2 separate regions of the Homo sapiens genome follow, and region 2 is linked to region 1. The links are contacts of gene promoters, found by promoter capture Hi-C in human tissues and cell types (Jung and others, 2019). All regions are on one chromosome and are shown on one strand. The core of a region is centred on a gene start or on the middle of the fragment in contact, and the rest is flanking DNA. Distances in the headings are between cores, read along the strand shown. Region 1 holds the start of ZNF138 (zinc finger protein 138). Region 2 overlaps ZNF92 (zinc finger protein 92).

The links. Contacts are between HindIII fragments. The study calls those that stand out against the background at their distance.
Region 2: a fragment that was not itself captured here is called in contact with the fragment with the promoter of ZNF138 in region 1 in 1 of the 25 tissues and cell types used here (dorsolateral prefrontal cortex).

What each region holds. Positions count from the first base shown.
Region 1 is chr7:64,792,521-64,796,525 of GRCh38, forward strand. ZNF138 (zinc finger protein 138) reads left to right here and starts at 1,908. Exons shown (of 4, transcript NM_001271639.2): 1 at 1,908-2,051. The coding sequence starts at 2,049. RefSeq lists enhancers at 1,634-1,683, 1,924-2,163, 1,948-2,508. The HindIII fragment of the contact is 15,546 bases long and covers 1-4,005 here.
Region 2 is chr7:65,380,045-65,384,049 of GRCh38, forward strand. The region is part of intron 1 of ZNF92 (zinc finger protein 92); the gene reads left to right. Among named protein-coding and RNA genes, the nearest start is that of ZNF92, 8.2 kb to the left of the region's middle. The HindIII fragment of the contact is 3,903 bases long and covers 1-3,684 here.

The DNA.
Region 1 (4,005 bases), core at 658-3,157:
TCCAGGCTCAAGTAATCCTCTTGCCTCTGCCACCTGAGTAGCTGGGACTACAGGATTGCCTCATGCTGGCTAATTTTTATTTTTATTTATTTTTATTTTTTATTTTTTTTGAGACGGAGTCTCGCTCTGTCACCCAGGCTGGAGTGCAGTGGTGGGATCTTGGCTCACTGCAAGCCCCATCTCGTGGGTTCATGCCATTCTCCTGCCTCAGCCTCCCGAGCAGCTGGGACTGTATTTTTAGTAGAGACGGGGTTTCACCGTGTTAGCCAGGATGGTCTCGATCTCCTGACCTCGTGATCTGCCCTCCTCGGCCTCCCAAAGTGCTGGGATTACAGGCATGAGCCACCGCGCCCGGCCATGACTGGCTAATTAAAAAAAAAAAAATTTTCATGCACATAGGATCTTAACTATGTTATTCAGGCTGCACTTGAACTCCTGAGCGCAAGTGATTCTCCCATCTCAGCTTGCCAAAGTGCTAGGATTATAGATGTGAGCTACCGTGTGCTTCTTCAATTTCTTAAGATTATTTCTAGCAATAATAATAAACAGTGCTATATGGGCACAAATCTAAAAGAAATCTGGCTTCTATTTTAGAAGTGTCACTCTCCAGGATTTCAAGGGTCAAATGGAGTTAATTCTGAGTCCCAGCCCAGCCACTTAATAGCTGTGGGTCTTTGCACAAATTTTTTTTTTTTTGATGTGGAAGAGTTATATAAACCACATATGCAAAAAAAGGCAGAATGATACTGATTGCAAAAATGTTAGCAATTTTTCATCCCTCCGCTATCCATGCCCATTGCCAGGTGCATTTACAGCTGTTTCCATTGAGATCCAGTTCTGTTTTCCAAACCCTAGATCTGGCTGGCCTTATTTGCTCAGGGCAGTAAAAACCTGTGAACAGTGCAGTGTGCTAGTTTGAGGCGTAGGCTCAAATGGTTTTGCATGCTTCTGTTTTTCTTTCAGAAGGCTACTATCTCCGCGAAAAAAGCCCATGTTAGCCAGATGGAAGATAAAATAGTATGGGGAGGAGAAGCAAGTTGCCTCTGTTGACAGCCTCAGAAGCAGAAGCTCACCCCCAGAAGCACAGCTGCCTAGTCAACAAGCAGCTGATGATACATGTCTGAAGGAACTCAGCTGAGGTCACAAGAATGGTCTCACTGAGCCCAGCCTAAATGACTAACCATCTCAATTAGAGTGAATTCCACCTGTTTATTCTTAAAGTTTGACTACTAGAAAATTTGGAATTCACATGTGCTCTGTAATCCCAGCACTTTGGGAGGCCGAGGCAGGTGGATCACCTGAGGTCAGGAGTTCGAGATCAGCCTGACCAACATGGCAAAATTCTGTCTCTATTAAATATACAAAAAGTAGCCGGGCGTGGAGGCGGGTGCCTGTAATCCCAATTACTCAGGAGGCTAAGGCAGGAGAATCACTTGAGCCCGAGATGCGGAGTTTGGGGTGAGCCGAAATCGTGCCACTGTGCTTGAGCCTGGGTGAGAGTGAGACTCTGTCTCAAAAAAAAAAAAGAAAAAAATCTCAGGCTGCCTGCTCAAAGGACCAGAAGCCAGTACGGTTATAAAATCTGGAATTTAAAAATAATTGTTATATTCAGATGTGAATAGCTATATGTTATTTATAAATGCATACGACCTTATACACAAGGTTAAATGCAAATGCCCTCTGGGGTGGGCCTGACTCAGCTCAGGGAGGAAGCCCTTCTGGAAAAGGCTGCTGCTTAGGTTTAACTCTGTCTTCCTTCAGCCCAGCACCTGAGCACATCTGTCACTCAGGGCCTGAGGGGGCGGGTTGTTAAACGTTATCCAATCAGGGACGCCGGGCTGGGAACGGTCCAATCAGGCACCCAGCTGGAGCGGACATGACGTCTTCCGGGAGGCGGCGGGGTCTTTGTCTCGCTGCAGCGGGTGCTGCAGGTCTGGCCTTCACTTTTCTGCGTCCTCTTACTCCTAGAGGCCCAGCCTCTGTGGCGCTGTGATCTGGTTATTGGGAGATTCACAGCTAAGACGCCAGGATCCCCCGGAAGCCTAGAAATGGTGAGAGTGCTGGGTCCGACATCCCGAGAGAGGGGGAGGGAGCTGGTTGGAACCGGTCGGAAGTGGCTGTGGCAGTACTCGGGTCTTCCCGCAGTCGGCTGCAAAATCCGCGGCCCCGAGTTCTTGGCACAGCTCGGCCCTCAGTCCCCTTAAGCCATAGCATGGCAGCTGGGCTGACAGCCGGAACCAGGCGTCCTGTCTCCTCCCTGCGCAGTGACTGTGCCCTGGCCTGGAGCCCTCTCTGAGCAGCTCTGCACCCGCAGCGATTGTGCAGAGACGACGGGAGGGTCGTCAGGGGAGAATCCTGACTCGGGGTGCTGGGTTCATGAATGGGAAGAGGTTTCCTCCGCGGGCTTCCCTGTCCCTCTTTTCCCCTATTAAAATTTATGAAAGTCACCGCAAAAAAATTAATTTAATCAAACAGTGATTCAAGAATTGTGGAGCACCCAGCTGTGGTTTGCAGTAGTGGTCCGTGGGAGGGGTTTGAAGGAAACACTTGTATAAGGTGTATGATAAAACCAAATTCAGTAATTGGTTAGTAGAGTTATGTAGTTTCTTAATTTGTACAATGAAGGAGGAAATTTCCTGGTCATGTAATCAGAGGTTAATTGGCAGTTTACAGTTGGTTAAACATGAATTTTATTTTTCACAAGGTAGTAATTTACAAAAAAATGCATTTGAGTTAGATTTTTTTAAAACCAGAAACCCTGGGACTGGAGCGACCTCAGTCTAATTGCCTGCCACTTAATTATTTTCACACTCCACAGGGGACAGATCTTCCCCTTCATTTTTCACATGTGTCCCAAGCAGGGTCTCAAGACTCCTCCCCCTCCCCATTTCCCATTCCTTCAGCCTAACTCTGGCTTGCAGTAAAATACTAAATTTCCAGTTCCTTCTGACATTCCCAAATGCCAACTTCCCCTTCCTAATTCACATTATCAACTATTTGTCCTTTAGTGTACATTTGAAATACTGTATTTTAATTAATCATTTTTTGACAAAGCATGGATGGCATTTTAAAAAAGATTTGTTATCTGTTTGTAAATATTTCCCATGAGAAGAAACCAAAGACTCATCCCCTGATGCTGTATTGTAAAAAATCTCTGTGCCTTTTTTTTTTTTTTTAAATCTTCCCTAGGTACAGAGATCTTATCAGAATATTTTTGGGTCAAGGTTTCCCTTTGGAAACTTTATAAGGTAATGTGTCCTTAGTCACTCTTCAGTTTTTTCCTTGGTCCTGGGTTTCAGTACTTTCTGAGGATAAATCAAAATATCCACTGTGGCTGTGTATGCTAGAATCTCTGGTAAATTTCAGCTCCTGGCCTGGAATGAACTCTGGTTATCTGGGAATGGGAGACAGAGGACAACCTGAGGTTGGAGTGTAGCCTCTCAAGGGAGCAGGTGAATGCCCTGGGGCTGAGAGGAATCTCCTGGTGTACTCTTCCTTTGAAAAGCAAACCCTTTGAGAAGTTAAGATTGTCTTCAAACCAACCCAGTGTCCATTTCCGGAGACATATTGCTGGTCAATCAATCATATGCTGGTATTGAGGGGAGAACACAGAAATAATTTCGGCCCACTGGATTCTCTAAGATTTGTGAAAGAAATGATAGTATCCAAAAAGACAAATCAAACCTTACCCCAGTGAGATGGTTCAAGAACTTGCAAAGTGAAATGTACTTGGGGCAGTCACTGAGGCATAGTGCAGCGTCTTCAGAGAGGGTGGTCTTCAGAGAGGGTGGTCGTTTAGCACTTAAGTGAGCAGGATGGGGTGGGAGAATCTCTCAAGTGATTGGGTGGCTTGACTTGACATGTGAGTGAGATACATCTGTTTTTTAATCAGCACTGCCACTCCCTGGGATTGTCACCCTGAAAAGATTTGTTCACTTACTTCAGTGTTTTAATTGTAACTTGCAGTTTATTAGTAGGACTAAAAGGTAAGAGGATAATTAGAAT
Region 2 (4,005 bases), core at 483-2,982, 590 kb after region 1:
GTGTCTGTTTTTCCTCTTATTGTCTCCATGTGTTGTTGTTATTTAGCTCTTATAAATGATAGCATGCATTTGGTTTTCTGTTTCTGCATTAGTTTTCTAAGGATAATGGTCTCCAGCTCCATCCATGTTGCTGCAAAGAAAATGATCTTGTTCTTGTTTTATGGCCACACAATATTCCACTATTTTTATGTACCATATTTTGTTTTTATTAAATCTTTATTTTATTTATTTCTGAAGACAGGGTCTCACTCTGTCGCCCAGGCTGGAGTGCAGTGGTGTGATCTTGGCTCACTGCAGCCTCAATCTCAATCTCCTGGGCTCAAGCAATCCTCCTACCTAAGCCCCCCAAGTAGCTGGGACTACAGCGTGCACGACCACGCCTGGCTAATTTTTCTTTTTGTATTTTTTGTACAGACAGAGTTTTGCCATGTTTCCCAGGCTGGTCGCCAACTCCTGAGCTCACGCAATCCACCTGCCTCACCCTGCCAAAGTGCTGGGATTACAGGCGTGAACCACTATGCTCAACCACAATGTATTTTCTTTATCTAGCCTACCATTGAGGGTATTTAGGTTAATTCCATGTCTTTGGTACTGTCACTAGTGCTGCAATGAAGATGCATGTGCATGGGTCTTTATGATAGAATAATTTGTATTCTTTGGGTATATACCTAATTAGGAGGTGGGTCAAATGGTAATTCTGTTTTTAGTTTTGTGAGGAATTGTCACACTGCTTTTCACAATGGTTGAACTAATTTACACTCCCACCAGCAGAGTATAAGCATTCTCTTTACCCTGCAACTTTGCCAGCACATCTATTATTTTTTTGACTTTTTTGGTAATTGCCATTCTTACTGGTGTGAGATGGTATCTCATTGTGGTGTTTTTTTTGTTTGTTTGTTTGCATCTCTCTAATGATTAGTGATGAGCACTTTTTTAATATGCTTGTTAGCCACATGTATGCTTTCTCTTTTTTTTCTTTTCTTTTTGGAGATGGAGTCTCGCTCTGTTATCCAGGCTGGAGTGCAGTGGCACGATCTCGGCTCACTGCAACCTCCATCTCCTGGGTTCAAGCAATTCTCCCTCAGCCTCCCAAGTAGCTGGGATTACAGGCACGCCCCACCATGCCTGACTAATTTTTGTATTTTTTTTAGTAGAGACGGGGGTTTCACCATATTGGCCAGGCTGGTCTCGAACTCTTGACCTTGTGATCCACCCACCTTGGCCTCCCAGAGTGCTAGGATTACAGGTGTGAGGCACCACACCCACCTGCTTTCTCTTGAAAAGCGTGTGTTTATGTCCTTTGCCTACTTTTTAATAAGGTTTTTTTTTTCTTGTAAACTTGCTTAAGTTCCTTATGGATTCTGGATATTAGACCTTTGTCAGAAGCATAGTTTGCAAATATTTTTCTTTATTCTCTAGGTTGTCTGTTTACTCTGTTGATAGTTTCTTGTGGGTTTTGTTTTTGTTTTCTGTGAAGATGCTCTTTAGTTTAATTTGGTCCCATTTATCGATTTTTGCTTTTGTGGCGATTGCTTTTGGTATCTTCATCATAATATCGTTGGCAGTTTCTATGTCTGGAATTGTATTTCCTAGGTTATCTTCCAGGGCATTTTATAATTTTAAGTTTTACATTTAAGTCCTTAATTTATCTTGTGTTTATTTTTGGATATAGTGTAAGCAGGGAGTCCAGTTTTAATCTTTTACATAGTGCTAGCTATTTATTACAACACCATTTATTAAACAGGGAATCTCTCCTACATTTCTCTTGTCAGCTTTGTCAAAAATACGATGATTGTAGGTGTGCCACATTATTTCTGGGCTCTCTATTCTGTTGCATTGGTCTCTGAGCCTGTTTTTGTACTGGTATCATGTTGCTGTGGTAGTGCTCAGAGTAGAGAGCTATTGCTTTAAAATGCAAATAGCCAAAAAGAGAGCACTATATTCAACCATTTCTATAGGAGAGTGAGAGCCTACCTTCAGCAGGCACCTGGCTTCAAATTGCAAAACTACCTCCTGTCACGAAGATGTGAAAAGTTTATTTTGTCATTGAATATAGCCAATTAGCTTACACGGATGGCCTCCCCAGTTGCCAGGTGAATTTAGGATGAACTATGTATAACATGGTACTGTAAATTCTTCTACTTATGGACTAATTATTGTGACCGTCTTTCTGTCTTTGCAGTCTCTTAAGCAGATTGTGATGCGTGTCACATTCTGGTGTAATTGTGTAATAAAACAGTTTTCTTTCTGTTTTATCATTGTGGAGTTACTCTGGGGCTGGAGAAAACTTTCCTTTTAATTATATTTTCCAAACACTGTTTAAACTTACCACACATGATATAAACATATAAGGTGCCAACCAAGCTTTAATCTAGATGGGCCTTTTTGTCTCAGGCTTCCAGTCAACTCATGATTGTGCTGCAAAATGCATGCTGTCCCCTGAATATGCAGGCAGAATCGTGCCTCTGCCTATTTGGTATCTAGTCCTGTATAATCACATCTAGAGAGGCTAGACCAAATTTCTAAATACTTCACAGAACAGCAATTAACCATTTTACCTCTTTCAATGACTCTTGTATCTTTAGACCTGAAACTGATTCAGAGACTGTGGGGCCCGTTAGAGTAACATGCATGCATTGAGTAGACATGTAGGCATGAGAATCTCCACTTTCCCCTTCCTTCTCTTTTTAAAATGCCCACAAATGTGCAGGTAACACTTACTGCTATTCTACCCATCCAGGACCTAAACTAGCGGCTCCACATTCTGAATCTGGGTCTTGCAGTAAACCTTTTATCTGAGAAATGCAAATCCTTTTAGTTATAAGGCTCAAAGAGACATTAAAACGAGACCACAATTGTGTCTTTCTCTCTCCTTTGAGCTATGTATTTATCTCTTGAAACTGCTTGCTATTGCCACGAGTAGCTATAAATTAAACTAATAATGCTACGCTGAACACTATAACCCACACCCTATACAGCTTAGAAATGTATGTCAATCAGTAATCAAGGTTGTTTTTAGTAAATAAGTAAGATTTCCTGACAATTTTGTATCAGCCCACTCTCTATCTCTTTTTGCCTTTAAAAATCCACTTGTAACTGCTGCTAGATTCCAGGCAACTTGAATCTTTGCTCCCAGTTTACAATCTTCAAGCTTGGCCCAAGTGAACTGTCTACTTACATTTGTGGTTCCTCAGCTTTTTCCTATGAAGGAGGAAATTAAGGACATATTATTTAGAATGTGCCAGAGCAGCCTTTATGAGGGGATCTCTCCTTTGGTTGTACTTTTGCTGTAACACCCAAGAATGCAGAGCCAGGTTGACCCCATCTAGAATCTTCACATGTCTGGCCTGGGATTTGCAAGACAGGAGCAGACTTTGGATTGAAAATGTACAGAAAACCAAGAGGAGGCATTCTCTGCATTGTGAGATGTCAACATAGACATCTTAAAGCTACCTCCTTTGAGAGTGTGGCTATTTGAGCTTTTCAGATCTTGTTCAGTGACCTGTTACTGTTACGTGAGAGGTGCCAGGTATAAATAGAATCTGATGGCAGAATCTGTAAATGTAAACAAAGCATCTTAGGAGTGAGAGATCAAGGCCACAAAGTATCCAGAGCCATGACTACAACTATACCTACCTGTAAAAAATGTGATACTGGAGTAGAGTATTCTTGTCCTTTCTCTTACCCAAAGACTACCTGATCAGGACAGGTAATCCAGGTTCTGGAGCTCCACCAGGGCAGTTCTGTTTTCTATTTAGAATCAGCCTAAGTCTCTACTGCCTGGCTTACTACTGGGCCATCAGCCCAGGATCACTGAGAACCCTCTCACAATCACCTAGGCATCTTTGAAACATTTGAGGATGTCCAGAGTAAAACTGTGTTAGGCTGACAAGAGTGGTTCATTCTGCTTTTGTCTCAGTGTAAGAGAAATGAGTCACGCCAAAAAATGGGGGCTTCATTTGGGCCGCTTCTTTATATTGTTGTGACTTCTGAGGTCATCATTTG